7 separate regions of the Homo sapiens genome follow, and regions 2, 3, 4, 5, 6 and 7 are each linked to region 1. Evidence: promoter capture Hi-C in 16 types of primary human blood cells and fetal thymus (Javierre and others, 2016). All regions are on one chromosome and are shown on one strand. Each heading gives the region's core, a stretch centred on a gene start or on the middle of the fragment in contact. The rest is flanking DNA. Distances are from core to core; before and after follow the strand shown. Region 1 holds the start of NDUFA10 (NADH:ubiquinone oxidoreductase subunit A10). Region 2 overlaps HDAC4 (histone deacetylase 4). Region 3 has its middle 25 kb from the start of MIR4440. Region 4 holds the start of LOC124908009 (a long non-coding RNA gene). Region 5 overlaps HDAC4 (histone deacetylase 4). Region 6 overlaps HDAC4 (histone deacetylase 4). Region 7 holds the start of HDAC4-AS2 (HDAC4 antisense RNA 2).

Evidence for each region. Contacts are between HindIII fragments. The CHiCAGO score rates a contact against its expected background, and 5 or more counts as called.
Region 2: a fragment that was not itself captured here is called in contact with the fragment with the promoter of NDUFA10 in region 1 in 2 of 17 cell types (M0 macrophages and neutrophils); the score reaches 5.7 in M0 macrophages.
Region 3: a fragment that was not itself captured here is called in contact with the fragment with the promoter of NDUFA10 in region 1 in 7 of 17 cell types (M0 macrophages, fetal thymus, naive B cells and 4 more); the score reaches 8.0 in M0 macrophages.
Region 4: a fragment that was not itself captured here is called in contact with the fragment with the promoter of NDUFA10 in region 1 in 1 of 17 cell types (M0 macrophages); the score reaches 5.1 in M0 macrophages.
Region 5: a fragment that was not itself captured here is called in contact with the fragment with the promoter of NDUFA10 in region 1 in 3 of 17 cell types (M0 macrophages, monocytes and naive CD4 T cells); the score reaches 6.9 in M0 macrophages.
Region 6: a contact is called between a fragment that was not itself captured here and the fragment with the promoter of NDUFA10 in region 1, in 8 of 17 cell types (M0 macrophages, monocytes, fetal thymus and 5 more). The highest score is 11.2, in M0 macrophages.
Region 7: a contact is called between a fragment that was not itself captured here and the fragment with the promoter of NDUFA10 in region 1, in 2 of 17 cell types (neutrophils and monocytes). The highest score is 5.7, in neutrophils.

What each region holds. Positions count from the first base shown.
Region 1 is chr2:240,023,996-240,026,695 of GRCh38, reverse strand. NDUFA10 (NADH:ubiquinone oxidoreductase subunit A10) reads left to right here and starts at 1,354. Exons shown (of 10, transcript NM_004544.4): 1 at 1,354-1,469. The coding sequence starts at 1,395. RefSeq lists an enhancer at 530-1,359 and a silencer at 1,168-1,427. The HindIII fragment of the contact is 3,872 bases long and covers 73-2,700 here.
Region 2 is chr2:239,090,771-239,093,470 of GRCh38, reverse strand. All of the region lies in intron 17 of HDAC4 (histone deacetylase 4), which reads left to right. Among named protein-coding and RNA genes, the nearest start is that of MIR4441, 6.2 kb to the right of the region's middle. The HindIII fragment of the contact is 916 bases long and covers 886-1,801 here.
Region 3 is chr2:239,042,961-239,045,660 of GRCh38, reverse strand. No RefSeq gene overlaps it. Among named protein-coding and RNA genes, the nearest start is that of MIR4440, 25 kb to the left of the region's middle. The HindIII fragment of the contact is 4,694 bases long and covers 1-2,700 here.
Region 4 is chr2:239,133,385-239,136,084 of GRCh38, reverse strand. HDAC4 (histone deacetylase 4) reads left to right here. Exons shown (of 27, transcript NM_001378414.1): 10 at 1,442-1,558; 11 at 1,642-1,840. LOC124908009 (a long non-coding RNA gene) reads left to right here and starts at 1,847. Exons shown (of 2, transcript XR_007088257.1): 1 at 1,847-2,700. The HindIII fragment of the contact is 3,488 bases long and covers 1-2,700 here.
Region 5 is chr2:239,152,573-239,155,272 of GRCh38, reverse strand. The region is part of intron 7 of HDAC4 (histone deacetylase 4); the gene reads left to right. Among named protein-coding and RNA genes, the nearest start is that of HDAC4-AS2, 40 kb to the left of the region's middle. The HindIII fragment of the contact is 1,536 bases long and covers 490-2,025 here.
Region 6 is chr2:239,074,031-239,076,730 of GRCh38, reverse strand. All of the region lies in intron 22 of HDAC4 (histone deacetylase 4), which reads left to right. Among named protein-coding and RNA genes, the nearest start is that of MIR4440, 6.5 kb to the right of the region's middle. The HindIII fragment of the contact is 6,470 bases long and covers 1-2,700 here.
Region 7 is chr2:239,191,853-239,194,552 of GRCh38, reverse strand. The region is part of intron 3 of HDAC4 (histone deacetylase 4); the gene reads left to right. It overlaps HDAC4-AS2 (HDAC4 antisense RNA 2), which reads right to left and starts at 908. Exons shown (of 2, transcript NR_198956.1): 1 at 377-908; 2 at 1-191. The HindIII fragment of the contact is 2,559 bases long and covers 103-2,661 here.

The sequences.
Region 1 (2,700 bases), core at 105-2,604:
GCACAAAAAAAAAAAAAAAAAAAAAATGCAAAGGAAACAAGGCAAAAAACAGCAGACATGAACCCTAAAGCTTGTTAAATGGATTTCAGGTGCCCTCCAGGATCTAAAAACCAGACCCTCCTGCGTTGGGGACCGGGAATCCGTATTTTTGACAAAAAGCAATTCTTCAATTATAGAAACATCCATAGAACCGGCCGTAGTTTACACAGCTGCATTCCCACTGTTTTACAATCGCATGATCATTTCTGAAAAGTTGAAAACAAAGTTAAAGAATATTTAAGGGGTTAAGAACAAAAAGCCTGGGGAACACAAAAGATTATAAAAACCCTTCCCAACAGCAGGCATACTTGGAAGGAAACCTCACATGCAAGGCTCCTTCGTGGAGCCCAGAGCCCAGGTCCTGACGGGAGCACATTTTAAGAGATGGACTTGCCGGCGCGGTGGCTCACGCCTGTAATCCTAGCACTTTGGGAGGCCGAGGCGGGTGGATCACGAGGTCAGGAGATCGAGACCATCCTGGCTAACATGGTGAAACCCCGTCTCTACTAAAAATACAAAAAATTAGCCGGGTGTGGCGGCGGGCGCCTGTAGTCCCAGCTACTCGGGAGGCTGAGGCAGGAGAATGGCGTGAACCAGGGAGGCGGAGCTTGCAGTGAGCGCGATGGCGCCACCGCACTCCAGCCTGGGCGACAGAGCGGGACTCTGCCTCAAAAAAAAAAAAAAAAAAAAAAAAAAAAAAAAAAAAAAAAAGAGATGGACTTGGAGCGTGTGCTTTTGTTTTCTATGCTATTCAATGTGTTCACAGCAGGTCCCCTGGATGAGACCACTTAGCCTTCAGCTCCGGAGGCGACCCAGGCCGGCCTTGCCAGGTCCCTCTCCCTGACAGGCGCCCCGCGACAGGGGTCCCACCCCGTCCCTCCGCTCCTCGCCCCCTCTTTTTCCACTTTCCCTCCCCAGCGAGAACGTTCTGAGAGCTAGGAATGTTCTCTAGGAGGTCGCTTTGACGTCCACACCGCGCCTGGGGGATTCTGCGGGGAGCACAGGACCCTGGGACGAGACGCAGAAGTCGCTCCACGCCCTGGGCGGCCTCAGCTCCCGCGACACCGCAGCAACTCAGAACCCAGGCAGGGGCCGGGCAGCCAGCATGCTGCCCCCACGTTCACCTCCAACTCCCACCTCTCGGCCCTCGCCCCAACCCGCAGGACCCTGGCAGCGCACTGGCTGTCTCCGCGGAAGCCCCCGAGGGCCTCGGCGCGGCCCCGCCCCCTGGAAGGTTCCCGACAGGCGCCGCGGGCACCCCGGCCGTGACGTCACGGCAGCGCGCCGGCCGCGAGAGAGGGCCCCGTCGCGACCGCGTCCCCTTGGGTCCTTGATCCTGAGCTGACCGGGTAGCCATGGCCTTGCGGCTCCTGAAGCTGGCAGCGACGTCCGCGTCCGCCCGGGTCGTGGCGGCGGGCGCCCAGCGCGTGGTGAGCGGGCGGCGGGGTGGCAGGGTGGCGGGGTGGCAGGGTGGCGGGGTGGCGGGGTGGGGAGCAGTTCCACATCTCCCCCGGCCTCTGGCGGCGGCTCCCAGGTCGCTCTCCGGGTGGGTTTGGGGGACCCCTCCTGCCTCCGGAATTGTTTGGTCTTTGGTCGTGGACAGACCTCAGGGGGCCACGAGCTTCTCCAGGCCATTTTATCTCAGCTTTAAGCAAAACGCTGGAGCGCGGAGGTGATCAGGGCCCCGAGGCTGCCCTGATGCGGGAGGCCCGTGTGCAGGTGGCAGGCCGGGGGCACACGCGCTTGTCATTAGATAATTCACGTAGCAGCCCTGTCAAGAGCCGTTTAAAGGTCGGGCCCTGCTGGGTGCTTGGGTGATGCCATGTTGAGCAGACACGGAGTTCAGTGCTTGTGTCCGCTTCCTTTTGCCTTTACTCTGACTGACTACTCTCATTTCTTAGCATTTTGCCCCCACCTTCTTCAGTGAAATCGTTTCATACATTTGTAACACAGTTGGATTGCTTTGTCACATTCTGCCTTACATCTTGGGATCCTTCTACCTAATGCGTTTTTTAAAATGTGCATACATTGAGCGCATTCTTTGTGCTATAAGGTTCTATGGATTTTTTCTTTGTGCTATAAGGTTCTATAGGTTTTGACACGTGTGTAATAGCATGTCTCCACCATTATAGGTTCGTACAGAGTAGCTTCACTGCCTTAAAAAATTCCCCTCTGCTTTACCTATTAAACCCTTCTTTTTCTCCAACCCCTGACAACCACAGATCTCATTAACATTTCCATAGTTGCCTTTTCTGGAATGTCATATAATTAGAATCATACAATATATTGCCTTTTCAGACGCCTTGAATACTTGGAAATATCTATGTAAGATTCACTTATGTCTTCGTGGCTTGGTAACTCATTTCTTTTTAATCACTGAGTAATATCTCATTGCATGGATGTACTTCAATTCATTCAGCAATTGAAGGGCATCTTGGTTGCTTCAAGTTTTTGGCAATTATGAATAAAGCTGCTGTAATCGTGTACATGCAGATTTCTTTTTGGAAATACATTTTTATATCATTTGGGTAATACCTGGAAGAGCGATTACTCATGTAGTAAGACTAGTTTTCTAAGAAGCTGCCAAGCCATCTTCCAGAGTGACTGTGCCATTTGACTCCCACCAGAAGTGAAGGCTCTCCTTGTTGCTCTGCGTGCTCG
Region 2 (2,700 bases), core at 94-2,593, 930 kb after region 1:
CCTGCTGTCGCTGGCACAGATGCAGCTCTCCTGAGCCTCATGTCTCCTCCAGAGCCAGGAGGGGCCAGCCTCCTGGGGTGTCAGGAGGAGCAAAGTAGACCTCGGGAGCCGAAGTGTGGGCACACAGCAGGTGCTCTTGTCAGGGAGGGCAGAGCAGGTGAGCAGAGCCAGCCACCTTCCCCGAAAGCAGCTGCAAACTCTCCCGGAGGCAGAACAGTGGGGCTTGGAACACGGAAAACTCACCACTCCTCGGCGCTGGGAAATGGGAGCTGTAAAGTGCTTTGACCTCTTTTTCAAACCAGATCAGCTCCTGCGTTGCTCCTCTCCAGTGACCGCAAGTTTCAACTGGGTGAGGAGCTGGTGTCCCTGCTCGGCCTCGCCCAGCGGAGTCCTGGCCTGCTCTCGTACGCCCGGCTCCCCGCGGCTCCTCTGAGCTTCCCAAAGGCCTCCCAGCCCTGCCAGCCCTCGGCATGTCCCTTTTAGACTCCATGGGATTATCCGTGGGAAGCTTTCTCCATGTTTCCCCCCGCCTTTTTCCTGTCTTTATTGCGAAAGAGAGAGAAAAGGAGAGGAGAGAAGCGAGAGAGAGAGAAAGAAAGGAAAAGAAAACAAAAAAAAAAAGAAACGAAACACAGAGTGAGCCATTTGCTCCTTCCTGCATTAGCAGTTGCGGCCGCCTGCCCTGAGCCAGGCTATTGCTCAGTGGTGGCGCTGCACGCCTGAGCCAGGCTCCCTGCAAGAGGCCTGGAGCTCCAGGCTGGTCCCTGGGAGCTGGAGCCGTGGTCCTGAAGCAGGCGAAGGAGGGTCTCTTGAGTTCTCTGGGGACTGGGGTCCTGCAGTTTGGCTGGGGCTTTGTCCTTCACTCTGTGCAAGACTCCAGAAGCTTCTGAACCCCAGGGTCCCATGGGAGGGGGCACAGACACAGGCACCTGGTAGACCGAGCAGCTCCTTGGCACCCCAGGTGTGCAGAATCCCCAGAAGACCCTTCAGAACACGGGTGTAGTACACCCTCCGCTCCCTGCAGTGTTGGCCTAATCCCAAAGCCTAGTTCATTGTATGTTGGAGAGAAACCATCTCTGGGTGCTGTCCCCACAGGGGCAGCCTCGGGGCCTGGCCTGTCTGGGACCCCGCCTCTGCTGGCTGACACAGAGCAGGTGGCAGAATCTTGCCCTGCCCAGCTCTCACTCCTGCGATGTCACCTTGGATTTTTTTTTTTTTTTTTTTCCTCTTTGGAGACAGAGCTTCAGTCTGTTACCCAGACTGGAGTGCAGCGGTGCATTCATGGCTAACTGCAGCCTCGACCTCCTGGGCTCAAGTGATCTTCCCGCCTCAGCGTCCTGAGTTGTGGGGACTACAGGCCCAGGCCACCACATCTGGCTAATTTTTGTTTGTTTGTTTTTGAGACGGAGTCTGGCTCTGTCGCCCAGGCTGGAGTGCAGTGGCGCGATCTCGGCTCACTGCAAGCTCCGCCTCCCGGGTTCACGCCATTCTCCTGCCCTAGCCTCCCGTGTAGCTGGGACTACAGGCGCCCACCACGGCACCTGGCTAATTTTTTTTTTTTTTTTTGTATTTTTAGTAGAGACGGGGTTTCACCGTGTTAGCCAGGATGGTCTCGATCTCCTGACCTTGTGATCCGCCCACCTCAGCCTCCCAAAGTGCTGGGATTACAGGCATGAGCCACTGCGCCCGGCCCACATCTGGCTAATTTTTTGAAAAGAAAACCATCACCGAATACACTTCAGGAAATGTCTTCAGCCCCTTGAAAATGCATTTTAACTCACCTTGCTTTGATGATGAAGCTTCAAGACCGCCTGGAAAGAAATCCTCCCTCCCCACATAATGAGCGGTGTCTATCAAGTGGCAAGTCTGCCTGGTGGTGGACAGGAGCCCTCGAGGGCCTGGTCTGGGGAAGGGAGAGGCAGGGTGGACACGCCTGGCTCCTGCTTAGGAGCCCCAAAGCACTCGGCGCTCAGAGGGGCTCAGTTTGAGAAGGAGGCGTCCTGCAATGGACCTGCAATCGCCCTGGTCAGCACCGTGTGGAAGCTGAGCAACCTATGACACGGCTTCTAAGACCTCCACCGGGCTGGGCACCCCCAAGTCCCCGGTGTGTTACCCCACAGCAGCTTGCAGGCAAGGGACACACTTGGGGACAGATGCTCAGGTTCCCTGGGGCCAGCCCAAGGGCTGTGTATTTCATCTTAACACCTCCCTCCCCTGGCCAGACTCCCATAGGAGACTGCTCTGTGCAGAACTGGCTGTCCAGGTCTCTGTCTGTCGACTTTCCTCCTGAATTGAGCCAGGGCTGTAAGAAATTTCTGGTGTGCCTAAATAAATAAATGAGCCAACACACAATCGGGGATTGTTGACGTGTTTGTGTGAAACACGTTTTCTGTCTGAAGTGGAAAAGGCCAGCGGGCTGACTTGCTGGTGTCCAGGCAGAGCCGTGTACCGTCACTAGGGCAGAGCAGGGCAGCTCTCCTCACCCGCCCACACGGCCAGTCCCGCTTAGCTACGCTGGTCAACATGTGGAGCTTCCAGTTAAACTCGGCACAGGAGAAAGTCACTATTGGAAGAGACTGGTCGTGATTCCCCTTACATTTCATTTTGCTGCTAATTATTTGACAGGTCGACTATCCCTTATCCGAAATGCTTGGGGCCAGAAGTATTTCAGAGTTTGGTGTTTTTCAGATTTTGGAATAT
Region 3 (2,700 bases), core at 99-2,598, 980 kb after region 1:
CCTGCCTCAGCCTCCCGAGTAGCTGGGACTACAGGCGCACGCCACCATGCTCGGCTTTTTTGTATTTTTAGTAGAGATGGTGTTTCACCATGTTGGCCAGGCTGGTCTCAAACTCCTGATCTCAGGTGATCTGCCCATCTTGGCCCCCCAAAGTGCTGGGATTACAGGCATGAGCCACTGCACCCAGCCAAGGATGGTAATATTATATGGTACTATATATATATGAGACTTTAATATAAATATATACTATACTTATACTATATATATGAGACTTGAATAATATATGAGACTTGAAGGTTTATTTTTAAATGCACTCAAAATTTCTATTTAAAAGGAACTCTCTGGCCAATTAAACTTGTTGATTTGATTTCAAATGCAAGAACATTTCTCTGATAGTGATGGAAAATAAATTCATATGAAAATGTGGGAAAAAAGAAGTGTGGCATTGTAATTCGTGCAAGTCTTGGGATTTATGTACAAAAACTAAAATGCTGCGGTGTTCTCAGTTTCTTAAAAGTTTTTGTCTGATATCTGAGTGTACAAAAAAATGGAAATTCGGGTTTGCAAGTAAATCGTGCTATAATTTCAACACATGCTGTCTTTTACATCAGATTCTCAGGAAGCGCAGGTCATAATGCAGCTTGGGAGGACCCAGGAAGTGGTTCCACTTAAACTTCTGGGGTGCAGTTGTAGGGAGTTGTATGTCCCTGACACACTCTTAGTTTCAATCTGGATGCAGCTGCTCTTTGAAGTCACACTGAGTCCCTAATATGTACTTGGGGCCTCAGACTAATGTGTTACAGTGTTGAAGTTATTAGTAAAGCCCCTTTGGAAAGTAAACAACTCCCAGTAATGGGCAGTTAGATATATGACAAAATGACAGATGATGGCAAAGCTAATGTCTGCGTGGGTGACACACATCTACCGAGCCAACCACAGATATTCGCAGGGCCAGGGGCCAGGGTTCAAGTGGAGACCGCCATATGCCCAAGTATGTGGACACAGATCAAGCTCCAAAAGTGTTATGCAGAAATGTGGGCTCCTCACCACCTTGACAAATCCACCTCCCTAAAGACGCAGGAGGCCAGGCTGGAGCCGCGGCTCTCAGCCTCCCAGGGGCCCTCGGCAGCCTCTGCCACCGCCTCTCTCTTCCTACTCCTGCTGGGGGGACCACAGCCCACCCCCTGCCTAGCTGCTTCTCGGGCCTTCTCACCTGGCACCAGAACCCAGAATGGCTCCTTAAGGGTTCTCCCCAGATGCTGCACATAGCATTTCTGCTTAAGACCCCCTGGGGCTTGTGGCCACAGCAGCTGCAAGCAAGGCCAGGATGTGCAGTCTTCCACAGGTGCCCACCTGTCCAAGTGGAGACAGCAGCTCTGCTGTTACAGAAGAAAGGGAGGGTGGGTACTGAGAGACACCAGAGTCTCTGCCACAGAACCAAGAACACCTGCAAACCTTACCAACACATGAGGAACCACTGTACCCAGGTACCTCACAACCCCCAGGGCCTTCCTATGAGGTCCACACTCTACCTGAAAGACATCTGTGCCAGTGGGAAGGCGGAGGGTCAGGGATGGTGCTGCCTGGACTCTCTGGGTAGGCACAGCCAACTAATGATACCAGCAAGGGTGGCCGGCCCTTACAACCACATTCTAGCCAATCGGAGGTTCTCTTCTTTCCTAGAAGCAATCGTGGGAGCCTTCCCCAGAGAAGAAGGTGGTACACACAGGTCCAAGGTGAGTATCATGACCAGAAGGAAGTCACCAAACGATGCCAGACCAGGAGCTGGCACTGTGCTGTCTGGCTAGTGAATTACTGGAGGACTAAGGATAAAATTTACACAGGTACCAGGAGAATTCTACAAGTAATGGCTGCGTGCACAGCTGCGAAGCTGATGAGATGCTGTTCAAGCGGAATCACTAGAAATACAAAAAGACATTTCGAAGAGATGTTAGGCCAGGCGCATACAGGAGCATACAGCAGAAATAAAAAATAATCACACGGATGAACATCGTGGATTCTCCTACAAGCTCCAGGTGGGAAGGGCTGCTGAAGAGGGAACGGATGAAGCGTCACAGTGGGCAGCTCTCTAAGCGGCGCCTCTCTAACTTGGTCCCAGCTGGCAGCGACTTGGCAGGAGCCACCAGGTGTGCCGTGCAATGGAGAGCTGGCCAGCCAAACCCAGAGGCCCTCATGCCTCTTTAGAAAGGCAAGAAGAAACTGCAGATATTCCGTATGAGTCCGTTCTCACACTGCTATAAAGAAATACCTGAGACTGGGCAACTGATAAAGAGAAGATGTTTAATTGGTTTACAGTTCCCCAGGCTGTACAGGAAGCATGAGGCTGGCATCTGTTCGGCCTCCGGGGAGGCCTCAGGAAACGTCCAGTTATGGCAGAAGGGGAAGCAGGTACGTCTTCCATGGCTGGAGCAGGAGCAAGAGATGGGAAAGGGGCCACACACTTTGAAACAGCCAGATCCATGAGAGCTCATTCATTCACTCCACAGTACCGAGCGGGGATGGAGCTAAGCCATTCACGGAACTCGGCCCCCGTGATCTGATCACCTCCCACCAGGTCCCAGCTCCAACACTGGAGATGACAATTCAATGTGAGATTTGGCAGGGGCACAGACGCAAACCATATTCTATTCACAAACCAGTTACCAGGAAATTCATTCTAAATCTAGACTTCCTCTGTAT
Region 4 (2,700 bases), core at 21-2,520, 890 kb after region 1:
AGCTACTGTGTAGGGGATATAGTGGTGATAAACTATTGTCCTTTTTAGCAAAACACGTTCATTCTACAAGCAAAAAGATGTTAAATATCACAGTAGTTCAAGTCCTTGGAGACTGTTGCTGCTGACTCTTCCTGTGTGGCCTTCTAATCTTTACTCCTGGCTTGTGTTTGCTTTATCCAAGCCCATTCTTTAAAAGGTACATGATCTATAACCTGTTTTTCTAACTTAATGTATCATAAACAAGTGTCCAAGTAATCAGCTAGATCGTTCCCAACCCCCAGAGCATCCCGGTGTGCAATGCCCCTCCGTTCTGTTAACACCAAGGTGTCGGGGAAGCCGCATAGCTCTGCCATGCCTGCTGGGTGCTCGGCCCTGCAGCGGAGGCTTCATGGGCATCAGGCCATCTCCTTATTTCTTAACGTTACATCCCAAGAGTGGAGCTCCAGCATCAAAGGTTAGACAGATTTTGAAGGCCTTTGACATAGATTGCCAAATTGTCCTGCAGAAAGGGTGCCACTAACTGATTTGTGATTCACCCAACAGTGTTCGCCGTTCCTCTAGGCCAAGATGGTATTACCATGTTTCAAAAGTGTTTGCCAATTTGTTGGGTTTCAGAATACCTTTTTTGATGACCATGATGTGTTTTCCTGAGCGCCTTCCCCTTCCTGAGCTCTGCCGTCACTGGTCCTCACCGCGTGCTTTTCTCACTGTTAGTTGTTTGATTTGCAAGCTCTCTGTGCTGACCCTCGTCTGCCTCATACATGGCCAGTATTGTCATCATTGCCCACCTTTCGTAGAGGCAGTTGTTTTATGATTTTCTCTTTATTTTTAATTTTTGTGGGTACATAATGTATATATTTGTGGGGTACATGAGATGTTTTGATACAGGCATGCAATTTGTAATAATCACGTCATGCGAAGTGTGGGATGTCCATCCTCTCCGGTGCTTATCCTTTGTGTAACAAACAATCCAATCATACCCTTATAGTTATTTTTAAATGTACAGTTAAATGTTATTTCCTTTTTGTTTTCTGCCTTTGATGTTATGTCTGGAAAGACATTGCCAACTACAAAAAAGCATTGTAAACTATATTATCCTAGAAACTGCAAAACGGCATTGTAAACTATATTAGCCTAGATTTCCTTCTAACTGTTCTGTGGTAAATAATCAAACTGAATAGAAATCAACGAGATGATGCTGGACAAGGTGACAGAAGAAGAACTCGTATCGGGAGGAGGAAACTGGAGTGGTGAATTGTGCTTTCATGTTGTGGCACGTGTTGAAATCTCATGCTCTCATTGCTGTCTCATTTGTTACATGTACGTTTACGCTCATATATCAGAATTCAGTGCAGGTGTTTTCATCGTTGTTTTTCTTGGTGTATATTGCTGATGTTTGGCCGTGACAGACTGTGATGGTCATCGTGTGTTCTGTCCCCAGACGAGTTTGGCGCACAGACTTGTGGCACGAGAAGGCTCGGCCGCTCCACTTCCCCTCTACACATCGCCATCCTTGCCCAACATCACGCTGGGCCTGCCTGCCACCGGCCCCTCTGCGGTAAGTCAGCCCCCGTGGGTCCGTGTGGTGTGGGGTGGTGGTGATGGGTCCTTCCACCCGAGCATCCTGGCTGTGCTTTCCAGGGCACGGCGGGCCAGCAGGACGCCGAGAGACTCACCCTTCCCGCCCTCCAGCAGAGGCTCTCCCTTTTCCCCGGCACCCACCTCACTCCCTACCTGAGCACCTCGCCCTTGGAGCGGGACGGAGGGGCAGCGCACAGCCCTCTTCTGCAGCACATGGTCTTACTGGAGCAGCCGCCGGCACAAGCACCCCTCGTCACAGGTGAGCACAAATGGGCCTGGGTGCAGCCAGGCTCTGAGGCTGCCCACGCTCTGGATGGTGCCCCGCCTTCGCCTGCCTTTGGAGGAGACAGGAATGCACGCCTGTCCCACCCCCACAGTTCCCAAACACACATCCCCATCACGTGATGTAGCCACCGTGACTGCAGTGAAAATCCATGCCTCACTCCCAGAGTCAGGTAGATGGAGTGGAAACAGAAGTCACTTCCCCTTTCTCACCTTTTGGGAGAGGCCACCGGCTCTTGCGATTTGGGTTTCTGTCTGGACCAAGCTGAGCCAGCGCTGGAAGCCCAGAACCGACTCTTGTGGTCAGTTTGTGTTAGCGAACTTTTACAAATGTGCACTGTCTGGGGGAGTGGTTACATTTAGAAAAATACAATTTAGAGGAAAATGGGAACGTCCTTATGAAATTACATAGCAACAGCAATGTGAAAGTGTCACTTCAGAAATGAGGGCACACCGGCCGGACACGGTGACTGACACCTGTAATCCCAGCAGTTTGGGAGGCCGAGGCAGGCGGATCACGTGAGGTCAGGAGTTCAAGACCAGCCTGACTAACATGGTGAAACCCCGTCTCTACTAAAAATACAAAAATTAGCTGGGCGTGGTGGCGCACACCTGTAATCCCAGCTACTTGGGAGGCTGAGGCAGGAGAATTGCTTGAAATTGGAAGGCAGAGGTTATAGTGACCCGAGATGGTGGCACTGCACTCCAGCCTGGGCAACAGAGCGAGACTCCGTCTCAAAAATAAATAAATGAGGGAGCAGCTACCTACCCCCTTGCCGTGCGGGTCATCGTTGTACATCTTCATAGCTTTGTGTTTGGCTTCCTGGAAACCTGTTG
Region 5 (2,700 bases), core at 8-2,507, 870 kb after region 1:
AGTGGACCATATCAGGCCGGCCATGTTCCCAGTACACCTATTAGGGTTTATTGAGGCGGTGGTGTCCCTGGAGCAGTGGGCCGTATTGGGTCAGCCATGTCCCAGGTGGAGTGGGTCATATCAGGCTGGCCACGTCCCAGGTGGAGTGGGTCGTATCGGGCTGGCCATGTCCCAGGTGGAGTGGGTCGTATGGGGCCGGCCAAGTCCCTGGAGGAGTGGGTCATAACAGGCCAGCTGTGACCTCAGAGGAGTGGGCCGTATCGGGCTGGTGGAGACCCTGCTGGAGTGGGCCATATCAGCACGGCCATGTCCTCTCCAAGTCAAGAACCCTGCAAACATGGGCGCATTTCCATTTGGGCCATAAACCTTTATTGGGAAAAGTGAACCTAGAGCTTCTGCTGCTTTGTTTCATGGGTGTGAGCCTGTGGTTCTTACTGATGCTTCTACTGAGAATGGTCCTGGATTTCACCTGGAGAGCGCCCTAAAGCTTGACAGAAAGAACGGATTTAGAGATCAGTATTTTTTCCAGAAAGATGTGCCCAGTAGTATCAGGAGAGAATCTGTGGGCTGATTCTTACAAATCGCCCTCCAGGTTCCCTTTCTGGGGACTGATGCTATTATTAATCAAATTCCATCAACAAAACCAAAGTCCGCGGTGAGTGGTGGGCCCTATGCTGGGAGAGAGACCCGGGGAATGGGGAGGCAAGGAACATGCCTACCCGGAAGAACCCTGCCCTAGAAACTGGAGCGATGCCGAGGGTGGAGGGTGGGAGCCCGGAGGTGTTGTCATCAAGTGCTGTGGGTTGGATGTGTGCTCATTCATGTAATAGCTCTGTGTGCCCTGAAACAAATGCCTTCCGTTCCCCTGGCCTCCATTTCCTCATCAGCACAGTGGGTCTGCCCACACCCACATCCTCACGGCTGTGGCATGCACCCATCCCCAGAGTCTCCTCTTGTCCTGGGAGTGATGGCTGTGGCACTCAGACTCCAGAGCCATGGACCCAGGAGGGAGCTTCCAGCGAGAGCACCAAGCCCAGCAAGTCGGCCTCATGTGGGGACGTGCCTTCCCAGAAACTCCCCATTTGGAGCCTTTCCACCAAGGGCCCCAGGAAAGGACAGCACACACCACCCATCCCATCAGGCCCCAGAGCAGTTCCTCAGCAGCTCCACACCCCAACTCGCAACAGAACAGCAGGGATGGGGGAGCCCTAGGAGCTATTTGCACTGGCTCCTCCCCCATCCCAAATGTCAGCACTACCTGGGGATCAGCCTCCTGTTCTAAGAAACAGAACCAGCTTGAGTACTTCATAGCAAGGAAGGCTATCAGCATGGGAGACGGCACACTGTCACGGCCCTGCCCTGCTGTTCACCATCAGAGGCCTTTCTCCCATAGGCAGGGCCCGCGCCATCTCTCGTAGATTCCGTGGCTGTTGGCTTCCCATGCTGCCTTGTGTTTCTCTGGGGATGATTGGAAGCAAAGTCTCCAACACCTTCTACTGTGCTTCTAACCTTGTGATAGCACCACCCTCCAACTCCCTGCTTTCTTGAGAACGGAAGAGAGAATTCTGTTTTCACACTCCGGGAAATGTTATTTAGAATACATAGTGCTCCAGAAGAACTTAATTAAGATTTGATTGCATTATCAGTTTTTTAAAAAGTCATCACTACCACATTAATAATAATAACATAAAGATTTCCGAGAAAACGTTTAAACCACTTAAGAGAATAGTGTGTAGTTACACACCCTGTATCACCCTTGACATCTACTTTCAAACACATGACATCGCTCATTCTAAGTAAGTTATATCTGTGCTTTTCTGCAGTAATTGGTAATATGAAACACGTCATTAAATTTTAGTTATGAAGTTCCTTGAATGAACTGAAATAGTCTTTAATAATTGTGATGTAGACTTAAATAATTATATGATTTTGATTTTACATTAACTTATCCTGACCCGGCACACAGTTTGCCCATTTCTGCATCTCTAAAGGGCAATTGTATGACCTGTGAACATGTGAAAAGCTTTGTCACTGTCTTGTGAATTTTGTCGTCACCCCATGCATTTTTTGCATGTCCTTTGCTGGCTCTGCTGACAGGTAACGCCTGTACCAGCTCAAACGTCTGACCTCCCTGGTGAAAGCAATGCAGTGACTCCTATTCGGAGCTTGGGCATATTCTGGGCATTCACATCGCCTGCACCTGTGGGCAGGACCAGGTGCCTGAGTTTCTACCCAGCTCCTTCACCCGCCACCTTGGGACCTGGGGAAGCTCTTGAACCTCTCTGTGCCTCAGTTTCGTCATCTGTGAAATGTACCTTTAAATTGCTTCTCTCCTGGAGCTATCATGAGATGTGAATTAATTAATATTTGCAAAGTCCTTCGAGTAGGACCAGATCGAGGTGTTTTCTGCTCTTGTTTCTCTACGCTGTTAGGGTGTTTTTGATTTTTTTCTCCATCCAATGACTGGTAACTGCCAGACCCAGCATCCCCCCACCTCCTTGCCTCCATGCCTACAGTTCAGGTAGAAACCAGCAGGAGCCACTCACCTCCACTTAGAGAAGGACCACAAGGATGGGAACACCAAGATTTATACCCAAAATCTGGCCAGAAGGGCCCATCTTGCTCTGTTGGCTTTTCAGGGCTCATCTCCTCGCTCCTGGCTTGCCTTCACCTGAGTGCCATCTCCCAGGAGGAGCCTCC
Region 6 (2,700 bases), core at 137-2,636, 950 kb after region 1:
CCAGTGAGGAGCCAGTTTGTGTGGACGATGCCCCAGGGCATTTATTGGGGCAGAACGGCAGCCAGAAACTCAAGCATGGCGTGCCAGCCCTGAGCCCAGTTCCCACGGAGTCCCCAGAGGCTTGCCGGCTGTGGGTGGCCACAGGACTGCAGCCTCTTGGCCCCATAAGCTCGGTTTGCTCTGAGGCTTGTGTTGACGGAAGGTGTGGTGAGTTTTGTTTAGGGTCCTACTAGGGGAATGAACTGGAAGGTCATTTCTTTCCAGATGTTGAAACCCAGCTGTTAAGTGAATTATTGCATTTAGATGCAGTTGTGGCTTTTGAGGATGGTATGTACAGGCCATAATTTGATGGTATGTGGTGGTTTAGAGCTAGACGTGCCCCGTGACACAGCCCCTTGCGCAGAGCACAGCTGGGAGGCTGCACGAGCGATGGCCTTTCGAGGAAGCAGAGTGGCCGGCACCCTGCCTGCTGTCCCGGTCCAGCTCTGTTCCCCCTGGGAAGCCGAGGGGCGTGGCCAACACCCGCCTGCTGTTCCAACCCAACCCAGCTCTGTTCCCCTGGGAAGCCCAGGAGAGTGGCCCGGCACCCGCCTGCTACTGCTATCCCGGCCCAGCTTTGTTTCCCCGGAAGCTGAGGGGAGTGGCTGGCACCCGCCTGCTACTGCTATCCTGGCCCAGCTTTGTCTCCCAGGAAGCCAAGGAGAGTTCGCTGGCACGCGCCTGCTACTGCTATCCCAGCCCAGCTCTGTTTCCCAGGAAGCTGAGGGGAGTGGCTGGCACCCGCCTGCTGTCCCAACCCAGCTCTGTCTCCCTGGGAAGCCGAGGAAAGTGGCCAGCACCCACCTGCTATCCCGGCCCAGCTTTGTTTCCCGGGAAACCAAGGGGAGTGGCTGGCACCTGTCTGCTGTCCCAGCCCAGCTCTATTCCCTGGGAAGCTGAGGGGAGATGTCGTCTTCAGGCTGCAGGTGCAGGTTGGCTGATGACCGAGTGAAGGGTGCAGTGCTGTGTCGGTAACGAAGGTGCCAGAGAAGCCACATTGAGGCCACGGGAAGGGGATGCGTGGCACCCCACGGCTTCACACGGGACCTCCCTAAATGCAGAGGCCACCGCGAGGAGAAGCCGCTCTCTCCCCTTAGCACCACGTTTCCCTCTGTACGTGCCTCACGGGCACAGGCACCCTCTGGGCACCACAGTCATGGCTTCCCTGGGCTTGCCGGCCCCAGGGGTGCACCTTACAGGCATTTGTCCACCTTCTCTAAAGATCCCCTCTTTCCACCCATTTCTCCTGCCTCTTGAGCTGACGATCAGTGGACGATCAGTGGGCCTACTGCCTTGGGAAACTGCGAGCCCACCCCTCTCTCCCCTCAGGTTGCCCCAAGAAAGGCCAAAAGTGACCTCATGGAAATACTCTCCTTAAAGTGATGGCTTGAGAGGCCCACGGCAAACATCTCAATCTTATTTTTTTAGAGACTGAGTTCTTTTTTTTTTTTTTTTTTTTTTTTTTTTTGAGACGGAGTCTCATTCTGTCGCCCAGGCTGGAGTGCAGTGGCGCGATCTCGGCTCACTGCAAGCTCCTCCTCCCAGGTTCATGCCATTCTCCTGCCTCAGCTTCCTGAGTAGCTGGGACTACAGGCACCCGCCACCACGCCCAGCTAACTTTTTGTATTTTTTAGTAGAGACCGGGTTTCACCGTGTTAGCCAGGATGGTCTCGATCTCCTGACCTCATGATCCGCCTGCCTCGGCCTCCCAAAGTGCTGGGATTACATGTGTGAGCCACCGTGCCCGGCCGAGACTGAGTTCTTTATTAAAAGTTTAATTCTGGGAATAAAATGTGAGTCCAGTTTCCCATTTTTTGCAGCATCTATTAAACAGGGACATTCCTTCAGCTTCCTCTTGTAGGAAAGTCGTGGAGGGTAAGCACAGTCCTGAAGACACAGGGAGTGCCATGCTCAGCTTCCTTTTTACAGGCAAAGAAGTCATGTCCCATGGAGGAGAAGGGACGTTTCTTAGTCGCGCCACAAACGGGTGCTGAAGGTGCACTCATGCACCTCACGTTCTGACCTTCTTATGTCTAGCAGGTGTTTGGGATCACAACCTAGAGGGTGTTGAGCCCAGTAAAATGAAAATGAGTGTGTGGGCACGTGCATCCGACTGTGCCCCACGCAGCCTCACGTGTGGCCGACGTGCCAGTGCCCACGAGCCTGGGCTCATCTTTCCCATTTTGTTTTGACTGGCTTTGAGGCAACACCACACACCAAGCCTAGACAGCAGAGACTCTCTTGGTATGAACTTCATTTAACGGCGATTTTCACAGGACTTCTTTTTGGAGGGGGATTAGAAGTAAAATAGCTCAGCAGCACTTCAAAGTGGGGAAGTAAAGCCTCCACGTGCGCTCGCTGCAAAGCAGCAGTCAGAGTGCCTCGCCAAGGACACAGCGTCCACACAAAACGCCTGTGGTTCTCATTGAAAAAGGTCTTGGCTTTAAAATCCACACCAAAAGCATGGCTGGAAATGTGTTTTTCTGTCCAAAGAAAAAGGTTTTATGACAAGAACTTTATTAAAATAATTAGAAGCGAGTCTCCTTGGGATGATGTGGACAGTTGAAAGCAGAGGGCGGCCCCCTCAGTCCTGCGGCCCCCCTCAGTCCTGTGGCCCCCTCAGTCCTGCTTCCCCACTCAGTCCTGCTGCCCCCCTCAGTC
Region 7 (2,700 bases), core at 133-2,632, 830 kb after region 1:
AATTTAAGAGCAGACTTGGGTCGAGCTGTGACCGTTCAGGTGATGCACGCACAGGAGGTTCAGCTGTGTGCCTGTGAGGCGGGCAGGAGCGTCACCCAAGCTTCAGAAGAGAATTCCCCGGCAGCAGCGTGGCGCTCAGCATGTTCCGTGTCTGACTGTTTTGATTGTCTCTCAGTCCAGTTGACAAATTCCTTTTAAGATGAAATTTGAATTAATTTGCAGAACTTGTACAAATCTCCAAGAAAACAGCTTAAGGAACAGATTAAAGAATGAATGCCTTAGGAATTAAAGCATTAATAGCTCTTGAGTAGACTGGATGGAAAGATGAGTTGTGTAGGTTATCCAGATGAGGCTACATCCAGGGAGCAATTCTTACCTTCAGAGGGCGCTGCCTGTCCTCCTTGGCATCCAAGTGAGCGCATCTCCTCCACGCTCAATGATGAATGCTGGCCGGCATCCCTGTGAGGAACCTTGTGATCATTTTCCATTTCTGAAAACTCCCAGGTGGTGGGGGCCCTTGGCCCACATCAGCATTGACCACCCCGGGCTCAGATCTGGCCAGGTGCCTGCGTTGTGATGGGAATTTCAGTACACTGAATTTTGCCTCTGACCCTGATGAAATAGCTTCGGTGGCATTTGCATCAAGATCATGTTAGTGTCATCTCTATTAGATGCTTTGGAGCAAACATGAACTTGGGTTTCCTTTTAAGATGTCCTGTGATTCCAGATTCAGGGGAATCTGAGAAAAGTTTGAAGAAAGAAAATTCCACTCGGCCAGCCAACCTTGGGTGTGCAGAGCCTGCCCCGCCTTCCCCACTTTGTCCTGAGAAGCTGGGTCCTCCCCAGCACCAGAGTTGCTGCTGCTTCCCCTCGCGCTCTTGGCTGCTCTCCCGGCCCCAAGCCTGAGTGACACTCTAGGATTGCAGATGGCAGGCTGGTCTCTGGGCTCCCCCGTCCCCATGACCCTCCACCTGCACCCAGACCTCTGGGTCCTTGCTCAGGCAGCCCCTGCCCTCGGTGAGACGCAGCCCACTGTGGGCCCTTCCCCTGGGCCTGCCATCAGCTCCTGTGCTCCTCGGCGCCCCAGCGGCTGCCCTGGGCCCGTTCCCACAGCACCTGGCACACAGCAGGAGCCATGAATGTTCTTTGGGAACTGAATGAGGAGTGGAAATGCGGGCATGTCATGTTTTTGAAGTTAATAAAAAAAATCCCTTAAAAGTTGTTTTATGTTCGGTTTTTAAAGAGATTAACACCAGACGTTTACAATGCTGCCCCCTCCCTCCATCTGTGAGAAATTAGAAATGGAGGGGGATGCGCTAAAGCCAGCAGCGGGTCAGGCCTCTGCCCAGCGCCTGTGGTGGGACCCTGTTTCTACATGGGACCTTGGGTGACAGCAGCACATCTTATAAGCAGGGGTCCCACCCAGGCCCCCCACACAGGGATAAATGAGGCGAGACGTAGGCAATAACCCAGCTTCCAAGATGCAACGCTGTGCAGTTACTTATTCCCTGTGCTTATTTGTTCAAGCTAAAATGTCTCTGTTTGACCAAACAGAAAGAATATGAGAGAGACCAGTTTCACCTACAAATATAGACACCAGCATTCTAAATAACATGGTCGTTGTTGATGCTATTTTGTTTTTCTAACTTTATCCCTTCCTGGAGATAAATGCAACTTTGTTCTTCTACATTATACAAGTGTATGCCTTCCCCGATGGGTTCACCCATGGGTGCTGACTGTGTAACTTAGAAGAACAAAGTTGTGTTTATCCCTGGAAAGCACGGGCCCGCTCACCTGAGGCACTCTAGGAAGTCACTGCAGGGCACTGGTCCCAGGAGAACCGCGTGCCAATCACAGCCATGAACGCGGAAGAGGGAACCGCAACCTGACAGTCATTCACGAGACTGTGTGTTCAGGAAAGCATTTAGCACCGCCGTGCTTGTGAGAGCCGGACCCGTAGCCCCCAGTGCCCACAGCAGGGAGCCCGCCAGCTGAGTCTTCTTCAAGAAGCCAGGCCCCGTTCTCTTTTCTCCGAGTTTGCGAGTTTGCTGACTTAGCTCTCCTCCCTGCCTTTCATATATTTTATTCCTTAAAAGAAAGTCTGAAGCAAATGTAGGTGAACGCTGATGTTTCATAAAACCAGCATTGCTTACGCAGTTTTTCCATTTTGCTATATTTTGTCATAAAAATGATCAGAAAAGGGAAGAAAGGAAATGAATAGGGTCCAGTCCTCACCCACATATGGGGTGGGGGAGTGGGTGGACCCCTGCTTTCTGCTCCTGCACATGGAACAGTCCTCACCTATGTGTGGGGTGGGGGGTGGGTGGACCCCTGCTTTCTGCTCCTGCACATGGAACAGTCCTCACCCATGTGCGGGGTGGGGGGTGGGCGGACCCCTACTCCCTGCTTCCGCACATTGAACACGCAGTTTATGTGCGTAGATTCTTCTCACATAATAGCAAATGAAAACCTTTTACTGTGTCAAAGTCGACACCCAATTAAAAACTAAATACATGCATTTTAAAAGTTGGGGGTTGCACTTCACTGATTTGGGGAAAGAAACAGAAACAGTCAGAGAGGAGGATTTCATTTAAAAAACAACAATAACAACGAGGCAGCCCGTGCTGCGCTGTGGAATGTGATCAGATATATTCAGAAGCTTCTGTCACCTTCTGGGTTGCTTTGTGTCTTTTCACTGTC